Regions from separate parts of the Homo sapiens genome. Here region 2 is linked to region 1. Evidence: promoter capture Hi-C in human tissues and cell types (Jung and others, 2019). All regions are on one chromosome and are shown on one strand. Each heading gives the region's core, a stretch centred on a gene start or on the middle of the fragment in contact. The rest is flanking DNA. Distances are from core to core; before and after follow the strand shown.

The links. Contacts are between HindIII fragments. The study calls those that stand out against the background at their distance.
Region 2: a contact is called between a fragment that was not itself captured here and the fragment with the promoter of TRIM9 in region 1, in 1 of the 25 tissues and cell types used here (mesendoderm cells).

What each region holds. Positions count from the first base shown.
Region 1 is chr14:51,093,780-51,099,326 of GRCh38, reverse strand. TRIM9 (tripartite motif containing 9) reads left to right here and starts at 4,222. Exons shown (of 13, transcript NM_001387360.1): 1 at 4,222-5,209. The coding sequence starts at 4,388. RefSeq lists a silencer at 4,161-4,230. The HindIII fragment of the contact is 24,626 bases long and covers 1-5,547 here.
Region 2 is chr14:51,763,260-51,768,389 of GRCh38, reverse strand. LOC101927598 (a long non-coding RNA gene) reads right to left here and starts at 2,574. Exons shown (of 8, transcript XR_002957605.2): 1 at 1,250-2,574. It also overlaps the pseudogene OR7E106P. The HindIII fragment of the contact is 4,822 bases long and covers 1-4,784 here.

The DNA.
Region 1 (5,547 bases), core at 2,973-5,472:
AAGCAGTCCAATGCCAATCTGATTCTTTTTTCTTTACAATTAAGTTGTTCTTTCTTTCTGGGAGCTTGTAAAATGATCTTTTTTTTTTCTTCTGAGTTAAGAATTGTGTCTGTATATAACTGGGTCTTTTTTCATTAATGTCATCTATAATTCTAAAATCCTTTCAATCTGTAATTTTATATATTTTTTTGGTTCAGAGAAATGTTTTCCAACTATGGTTTTCCCTCCACCTGTGTTATTTCCTCATTCTGAGATTCCTATTATTCACAAGTTAGGTCTTCTGGATTTATCCTCTAGCTCTCTTACCTCCATATAGGATTCATTAAATCTTCATTTTCTCCGATTCTCCAGTCTACCCTTCCCAAAGCATCAGTAATATATTACTTACAATAAGAAATACTACAGAATTTGAATATGGCCATCTTCCAGTAGTACTAAATGGGAAAAAGCTCATAATTCACTATAATAATCAAATAATTTAAATTACCAAAGGATATCAACAATAAATGTTATTAAAGAATAGTACAAAATTATAAGTATAAAATTGAATATTAGTAGACTAAATGGGGTAAATTATTCCATAAAAGAAGTTTCTTCAGAATTTCTATTGAGAATAGAAACATCACATTTATCACTTTTCAAGTGATGTACTTTTACAAACCACATGCAGCAAGACCCTTATTCAAATACCTTAATAAAATATTTTTATATACATGTCAGATAATCTTAAAATGTTAGAGCCTAAGATCAGCTCCTTTCACTGATTTCCACCCCCCTCCCACAACTAAGGATAGACTACTCTAGGAGAGAATGTGGAAAGAAAAACCTTTCTTCTCTGTGTTCATTCTTTAGACTCACAGAGACTGTTTTGTTAATAATCAAGCATTGTAGTCAAAAGCAAATAGGAAAGCAACTCAATTTTTCATTGAAAAACATTTATCAAAAAAAGAAAAACATTTATCTTTTTTTAAAAATGCAAAAGCTGTTGTTGCACTTTAAATGTAATTGCTCTCATTGCTAAAGAACATAATTTGGGTGAATAGTAAGTTTCAAAGGATAATTAGGCACTTTACACAAAAGAGAACATCTGCAATCATCCCAGGAATGATGAAATTACAGGGCTATCAATCCTTGTGCTTCAGGGCATGGACTGATCACCAGCTGGAAGACAGAAGATATCCCCTCAATAGTATAATATTTCTATAATATTACCAATTACATTTCAATTTTTATTCCCTTTTAAACATAAGTCATTGGGGGGCTATAAAGCACATTATGGCCAAACAGTGCAACATGAGGGGAAAATCTTCAAAGGCCTTCAAGAATATTTTAAAGAAATGGATTCAAAGAAAAATAGTAAACTTTTGGCTGGGAGCGCTGGCTCATGCGTGTAATCCCAGCACTTCGGGAGGCTGAGGCAGGTGGATCACTTGAGGTCAGGAGTTTGAGACCAGTCTGGCCAACATAGTGAAACCCTGTCTCTACTAAAAAAAAAAAATGTAAAAATTAGCCAGGCATGGTGGTGCACACCTGTAGTCCCAACTACTCAGGAGGCTGAGGCACGAGAAACACTTAAACCTGGGAGGTGGAGGTTGCAGTGGGCCAAGATTGTGCCACTGCACTCCAGCCTGGGGAACACAGCAAGACTCCAGTCTCAAAAAAAAAAAAGGAAAAAAAAAGTAAACTTTCAGAGAAGGTGAGCAGAATATCATAGAAGTTAACAAAGAACATTTTGGGTACTTATCACATTCAGAGCTTGAAGAGAGTAGAACTCAGCACTTGTTGAATGAATGAATGAATGAATGAATGAACAAAGGAACAAACTTATATGTGTCCGGGTTCCAATCCCAGCCTCACCATATTTGACCTTGAGTACTTAAGTGTCTTTGCTTATCTTCAGTTTATTTATCTGTAAAATGGGAATAATTGTGCCTACCTCTTCTTGTAATTACAGGGATTTAACCAAGTAATGTATACAAATAAATAAATCCCCTGTTTGGAACAGGGTGAACTCTCAACAAATGAGTCATTTTAAGAGCTCTCCTAGGATTGACTGATTTAGCTAATTCCTAAACAAACAGATCTAACAATGAAATCATCTCAAGCGACTTCATAATAGACCAAATCTTTCTATATTGACTATATTATAAACCTGTGTTGTTCTTTTTGCGAACCCAACACTGCATTACACCATGAGACATCCTCTAAAATTCTTCTTTACTTTGAACTAAGCATAAACTTTCTGCTAATAAGATCTCTTAGATGATATACTATTATAAGCAGAGTTCAAACTCATACAAAGTGTAACAGCTGCTCACCTTGCTGGTCCAAGATATTGTGACTTGTGGTCAAATGCATACAAAAGCCATAAAAGGACACTCCTTTCTAATATTTTCTCAATAATTAACTTTCATTACAATTCAATTAATACTATATTGAATATAATTATTAGTAATTTCTCTTGGGACCTATAAATTAAGTGTATCCTGCAAGTGCAGCTAATGTCCCAACCATACCTGAAGAAATTTTATCTATGTCTGTAAACAGAGTGCATATACCTTTGGATGCTCTGGTCTCAACTAGTTGAAAGCCAGCTTAAAAATAAATCACGTCACATTTATGATTAACATGGCTTTAAATAACAATGGGGACTTTATTCCCCCACACAATGATCAACTACTGTTCTCACTGCAACTAAAGATGTTGAAAAGATAACCTAGTTTATTGGACAATTTCTACAAGGGCAGTGTAATAAAATGTCCATTTTTTTTCTGGACAATAAAGTACTTTTAAATTATCAACATAGCTGCATATAATCAAGTTATCTCCTGTCTGGAAGGTGGAAAATTGGAATATTTCTAGAACTTGCAAAGAGTTTTTGTCCTTTACTTCATGAATCATTCAGCAAAAGCCGGCTATGTACTATTTCAAATGTTACTACCTCAGAATGTCACTTGACTCAAAGATTTTCCTTTCCTTTTCTTCTTCCTCCCTCCCTTTCTTCCCTTCCTTCCGCCTTTCCTTTCCCCCCCCCTTCCTTCCTCCCTCTCTCCCTCTTTCCCTTCTTCCCTCCCTCCCTCCCTCCTTGTACAGGGACTAACACTAGAATCACCGCCTCACCATGCCCCTCGTTGGAAGAAACAGAAAGGCACACGATGCTGTAAGCTATGGCAGATGCCCAGGGCACGTGGGGTTGAATAATGCTGTTTGGAGTGAAACACTGAGACTCCGCAGTCACACAGTGATTCATTTACAGAGCTTTACTAAACTACGGGCACTCAGAAATAGACAAACTGTTCTTGCCTCAACCGAACCAAAGGCCCAGCGGGCCTCGAAAAAGCTCAGCCAGGTGCTTTGGGAGGCCGCGAGGAGGAAGAAGGATCCGTGGAAGGAAGCACGTTCACACCACGGCACTGAGGCCTCTGGGCCGAGCTATAATTTAAAGCATGAAACGAAGGGGTCATAGATTCTGACTAATGCTGACCATTTCCATCGGTTACCCAGTTGAATCTCATGTCGACACTAGGAAATCGACTTTATACATGCTCTTTAGGAAACGAGGGACGCAGGATGAAAGAAGCCAAGAGTGTCGCCAGGGCTTGCGCCAGCGCCGTCAGACTCCCGGGATGGGGGAGCTCCAGGGCACGGCGTCAGCGGATTCACGGAGAAGGAGAAAAGCCCCACTGCCGTGCAGAAGCCTAGGCCCGGGTGAGACGCCTGCGAAGGCTGCCAGCAGCGGAAGAGAAGGGGCGTCCTCCGTGCTGCGCAGCACTCGCCCGCGGTAGGTGGGCGCGGAGCTCAGAGCTGGGAGCCAAACGCAAACGCTGGCGAGAAGCCCCAGCCCCCTCCGGCAGCCCACTCGCTGCGGGGAGGGGTTTCTCACGCCCCCAGCTCCTGGGAGACTGCACCGGAGGTCGGAAGTAAGCCGGGCGAGGATGAATCATCCCGCCTAACTCCTCCTTCCCGGTCCCCTAGCCTCCGCACGCCGGCCCCCTTCAGAGATCTTGCAGCCGCGAGCGAAGACTGCCCTATCCTCAGACTCTACCGAACCCCCTGTGGCCTGCGGAGACGAGGAGACGGACGGGTCTGGTGGCCAATGAGAGCTTCGATCTCTTGCCCCCCGCCCAATGGGCCGCTGCTCATGGGCCGGGGCGGGACTAGGAGGGCAGGTAGGGGCGGTCCGGGCTGGCGCGCGGCGCGGCGGCTACGCGGCTGCGGCTCACAGAGCTAGCGCCTCTCTGGGTGTCCGTGCCAGTGCTGCGCGGGAAGGCACCACCACCACAGCCGCCGCCGCTGGCCAGGGTGCTGGACAAGACGGGCCCGTCGGCCACCTCGCCAGCTCAGGCACCCGCTGCAGCCGTCGCTGTCTCCTCCCAGACCGGTCCCCATGGAGGAGATGGAAGAGGAGTTGAAATGCCCCGTGTGCGGCTCCTTCTATCGGGAGCCCATCATCCTGCCCTGCTCTCACAATTTGTGTCAGGCGTGCGCCCGCAACATCCTGGTGCAGACCCCAGAGTCTGAATCCCCCCAGAGCCATCGGGCCGCGGGCTCCGGGGTCTCCGACTATGACTATCTGGACCTGGACAAGATGAGCCTATACAGCGAGGCGGACAGCGGCTATGGCTCCTACGGGGGGTTCGCCAGCGCCCCCACTACCCCGTGCCAGAAGTCCCCCAACGGCGTCCGCGTGTTTCCCCCGGCTATGCCGCCACCGGCCACCCACTTGTCACCGGCCCTGGCCCCGGTGCCCCGCAACTCCTGTATCACCTGCCCCCAGTGTCACCGCAGCCTCATCCTGGATGACCGGGGGCTCCGCGGCTTCCCCAAGAATCGCGTACTGGAAGGGGTAATTGACCGCTACCAGCAGAGCAAAGCCGCGGCCCTCAAGTGCCAGCTCTGCGAGAAGGCGCCCAAGGAAGCCACCGTCATGTGCGAACAGTGCGATGTCTTCTACTGCGATCCGTGCCGCCTGCGCTGCCACCCGCCCCGGGGGCCCCTAGCCAAGCACCGCCTGGTGCCCCCGGCCCAGGGTCGTGTGAGCCGGAGGCTGAGCCCACGCAAGGTCTCCACCTGCACAGACCACGAGCTGGAGAACCACAGCATGTACTGCGTGCAATGCAAGATGCCCGTGTGCTACCAGTGCTTGGAGGAGGGCAAACACTCCAGCCACGAAGTCAAGGCTCTGGGGGCCATGTGGAAACTACATAAGGTGAGTCCTAAGAAAACCCACTCCTAACTCCCTGCGTCTCCGATCATCCGGTTTTGCAGCAGACGGTCCCCGTCTCTTGCGCACAGCGCATCCCAGTGGGGGCGCAATGCAGGTGCCTTCGATGTTTACCTCCCTGGTCTGGTGCATTGCAGGAGGCATGGGGGAATCTTAACCGGCGCACGGGGGAGTTGAATGCCCCCACAGAGTTGTTGCGGGGATGCCTTAGAGCGGGTCTCTCGGGGCGCGCTGCCTGCGAGCGGGACTCAGGGCGCCCCCTTTCCGCGGCGGGTCTGCAGCCAGTGGCCGCGGCCAGTGTGTGGGAAAGCACTGCATAGCTG
Region 2 (5,130 bases), core at 1,124-3,623, 670 kb before region 1:
GGAAGCAACCCAAGGGTTCATGGGCAGGTGAATGAAAAAGCACAGTGCAGTTCATTCATACAACGGAAGACTATTCAGCCATAAAAATGCAGGCACTTCTGGCCGGTGCGGTGGCTCACGCCTGTAATCCCAGCATCTTGGAAGACCGAGGTGGGCGGATCACCTGAGGTCAGGAATTCAAGACCAGCCTGGCCATCTTGGTGAAACCCTGTCTCTACTGAAAATGCACAAAATTAGACGAGCGTGGTGGCGTGTGCCTATAGTCCCAGCTACTTGGGAGGCTGAGGTACAAGAATCGCTGGAACCCGGGAGGCGGAGGTTGCAGTGAGCCCAGATTGTGCCACTGCACTCCAGCCTGTGCAACAGAGTGAGACTCCATGTAAACACAAAACAAAACAAAACAAAAAAACACCCAAACAACCAGACAGGCACTTCTGACACAGGCTGCAACACGGATGAACCTTGAAGACATTCTCCTCAGTGAAATAAATAAATCCCAAAAGGATAAACATGACCAGGCTCAGTGGCTCGCACCTGTCACCCCAGCACTTTGGGAGGCCGAGGCAGGCGGATCACTTAAGGTCAGGAGTTCGAGACCAGCCTGGCCAATATGGTGAAAGCTCGTCTCTATTAAAAATACAAAAATTAGCTGGGCGTGGTGGCGCATGCCTGTAATCCCAGCTACTCGGGAGACTGAGACACAAGAATCGCTTGAACCCACGATGTGGAGGTTGCAGTCAGCCGAGACCACACCACTGCACTCCAGCCTGGGTGACAGAGAAAGACTCTGTCTCCAAAACAAACAAACCAAAAAAATTAAACACGGTATGATTCCACTTATATCACGTGTCTAGAGTAGTTAAACTTATAGAGCTGCAAAATAGAATGGTGGCCCCCAGGGGTGGGTGAGAGGGAGAGGAATGGAGAGTTTGGTTAATGGGTGCAATTTCCATTTTCAAGGATAAAACTGTTCTGGAGATGATGGCGGTGATGGTTGCTAAACAATGTGAATGTACCTAATGTGATTAAACTCTAAACTGAAAAATAGTGGAAATTATAAATGTTCATACTGGCCATTCTATATGAAATAATCTATATTTATAATTTTTAGGATTTATACGTGGTATATTTTCCCATAATAAAAGATGAAAATTAAAGCACTTGGATCTTGTAAAAGAAAAAAGCAAATAATACACACAAGCTCTCTCCTGATTAGAGGAAGAGCCCCAAAGCTTCTATGGACACTTACTTTTCTATTCTTCTTCTTGCATGATGATGAGGAAATCCTTAGAGCATGGGGAACATGGGCGACTCTGGCTAATGAGGAGCTCTGTGCCTTGAGCCCCCCAGGCCATAGAATAGGAAATACTCAGTCTGTGCCTCCAGCCCTGCAGTGTGAGGTTGCAGTCCTGTGGGCTCCACACCCGTCACCTGTATCAGGAGGCTCATGTCTCACCCTGTCTTCTTACCAGCCTTGAGGACGGAGTCTGAGCCTCCCATGTGCACCACTCAGGGAGGACAGTGGACCTGTTCTCCGTGGTCATGGCCCAGCAGAGGGGAAGGGCCGTTCAGTGAGTGCTGAGGGACGGTCGGGAGCCTTGTTTGTTTCCTCATCTTCAGGACAAACGGGAGAGTGCCGTGGGCAGATGGGAGGAGACCAATGTGCAAACTGTCAGCTCAGCAGACTGTGGAGTTTCTGTTCTTGGTTGTGGTGGGGGATCTCTCTCAGGAATCTTCTTCAAAATTTTGCTTCCCTCCCCCACTGGTTGTCCTCTTCATAGACATCTCACCCATGAGAGCAGGGAATGAGTCCCTCTAAAGTATGCCCTCAGAACAACAAAAAGATGATGAAGGTGATGATGAGGATAAAGAGGATGATGACAGACACCATGGCATCATGAACCCTTACTGAGGGCTTCCTAAAGGCCAGGCTCTGAGCTCTGTGTTCTATGCAGCTTGTTTCATTTCATCTGCATAGTCTCCCAGTTATTAGTGCACATTTCCTTATGATTTTACAGACTAGAAAAGGAGCAACACATTTTCATATAACTTGTACCAGATCACGAAGTCAAAAATGGTGAAGCCCAATTTGAACAAGGTAGTCTAAGCCAGACACATGGCATTTGGCCAGTCCTCTCCCTGCATCCAACCTGCCCCCTCCAATCCTTGTCACTCAGGCCGATGCCCCTGCTCACTGTGCCCTTCCCTTTGGGGGTTCCTTGTAGACCACAGCTAGACCAGTGGGTGCCACAATCACTGTGTCAAGTATGGAAAGGGCAGCGGAGATCACATCAAAGATTCCAGAAAGAATTGGCACAGGATCATTCGGGATGCATCTCTCCCTTGCCCCTGTTCCTGGCTTTCCTTACAGCTCTCGACTTCCTCCAAGGAGCCATCAGTTCCGGGTTTGGCTTCCATTCCTATTGAGGAAGCTGGAAACCATTTCAAAAATGCTCCTCGGATGTGCCTGTGGTTAAGACCTCTGAGCTCTGTTGAAAACTTTTGAAGCTGGGCGTGGTGGCTCACGCCTGTTATCCCAGCACTTTGGGAGGCTGAGGCAGGCAAATCACAAGGTCAGGTGTTCGAGACCAGCCTAGCCAACACGGTGAAACCCCGTCTCTCCTAAAAAGAGAAAAAAATAAGCCAGGCGTAGTGGCGGGCGCCTGAAATCTCAGCTACTCGGCAGGCTGAGGCAAGAGAATAGCTTGAACCTGGGATGCGGAGGTTGCAGTGAGCCGAGATCGCTCCACTGCACTCCAGCCTGGGAAACAGAATGAGACTCCGTCTCAAAAACAAAAAAGAACCCACAACATTTTGAGGGTTGGGAGACCATCAAGTATAGTGCCCGGGACTTAGAGTCTGGCCATTAATTTCAATACCACCCTTTCTACTTATCTGTATGGCAAGGAGTGAGACGTCCATCCTCTGAGACTCAGCACTCTCATCTGAGTTGATTTCTAGTTGATCCAAGGGAAGTGAGCGATGATGAAACCCATAGTGGGTGCCCGCTGCGTGATCTCTATGTGATGGATGCATAAAGTCAAGGCAAAGTGAACTTTAGATACATTCGTTAATATTTTCAGCTTAAACTCCAAACGGTTCAACGGAAATATCCCCTGACCTGAAGTTCTTGTGTCCCTGCATTCCAGACAGGACATCTTATTTTGTCCTTGTCTCAGTAAGTACTGAGTATTGTGAGAGGAACAATTGAGTCTCTTTTGTTTCTGATTCCCCAGAGCCTATATCTTGCTTGGCACATAGGAGATAGCCAAAGTAAACATCTATGCTGATTATTGAATTGACACTTCCTTGGTTCACAAAAATTGGCTGTCATCAGTGTGACGTCAGTGTGACAGAGCGTGTGTTTTTGGTTTTTTGTTTTTTGAGATGGAGTTTTGCTCCTGTTGCCCAGGCTGGAGTGCAGTGGTGTGATCTCGGCTCACAGTAGCCTCTGCCTCCCAGTTTCAAGCCATTCTCCTGCCTCAGCCTCCCGAGTAGCTGGGACTACAGGCACACGCCGCCATACCGGGCGAAGTTTTCGTATTTTTAGTAGAGGCGGGGTTTCACCATGTTGGCCAGGGTGGTCTTGATCTCCTGACCTCGTGATCCGCCCTCCTCGGCCTCCCATAGTGCTGGTATCACAGGCGTGAGCCACCGCGTCCGGCCAAACGTTCTGATGAAAACTCTAAGTCCACCTAAGCTAAGGATAGGAGTTATAGCTTCCATGAATTTTAAAACAAGACCCACTGATTTGAGGAAGCAATTACTCTCTTGAAGGAGAAAAGTCAGAAAACGTAATGATGAAATCACTGGGACCCACCTGGCCTGTGGAACTATTTTCTGCTTATGAACCATCAACTTTAATTTCATTTCCAGATGGCATGGTCTCAGCAGTTATACAGTGTTTACAGATGTTCTAAATCAAGGGAATTTGTATCAATCTATTCGAATAAAATAAAATATTTGAGTTCTTAATTTCCTTTCATTAGGATAACCTTTTTCTTAAAGTGAAGAGAATGGTTTCATTACATCGTTTTCTTCGGAAAAGATAGGCTGTATTTTCTAGCAATGACGAACTTCTTATATAGGATGATTTGGTTCTTGGAAGATTCTTGAATCTAGTGTCTCTAAGGCAGGTGTGTAGAGCAAGAAGTGAAGAACACAGAAATCAATGATGAAAGCATTAGAAGACAACTGAGTTTGTCAGCACTGCAAACTATTGCTGAGTGTGGATTGCTCTGAAATCTGAAAACATGACTTGTGAATTGCTTCTATGCAAAATGCAGACATGATGCTGGGTGTTGCTTTACTTGTTTCCAATTTCTCAACCCTCTTTTCTAGGCAAAAGGTGTCCAATCTCTAGAGACCCACAGAATCTAACAGATGTCTCTATATTCCTCCTCCTAGAAGCTCAGAGGATCCAGAACGGCAGCCGGTCCTCACTGGGCTGTTCCTGTCCACGTGCCTGGTCATGGCGCTGGGGAACCTGCTCATCATCCTGGCCATCAGCCCTGACTCCCACCTCCACACCCCCATGTACTTCTTCCTCTCCAACCTGTCCTTGCCTGACATCAGTTTCACCTCCACCACAGTCCCCAAGATGACTGTGGACATCCAATCTCACAGCAGAGTCATCTCCTATGCAGGCTGCCTGACTCAGATGTCTCTCTTTGCCATTTTTGGAGGCATGGAAGACAGACATACTCCTGAGTGTGATGGCCTATGACCAGTTTGTAGCCAAATGTCACCCTCTATATCATTCAGCCATCATGAACCCGTGTTTCTGTGGCTTTCTACTTTTGTTGTCTTTTTTTTTTCCCTCAGTCTTTTAGATGCCCAGCTGTACAATTTGATTGCCTTACAAATGACCTGCTTCAAGGATGTGGAAATTCCTAATTTCTTCTGTGACCCTTCTCAACTCCCCCATCTTGCATGTTGTGACACCTTCAACAATAACATAATCCTGTATTTCCCTGATGCCATATTTGGTTTTCTTCCCATCTCGGGGACACTTTTCTCTTACGATAAAATTGTTTCCTCCATTCTGAGGGTTTCATCATCAGGTGGGAAGTATAAAGCCTTCTCCACCTATGGGTCTCACCTGTCAGATGTTTCCTGATTTTATGGAAC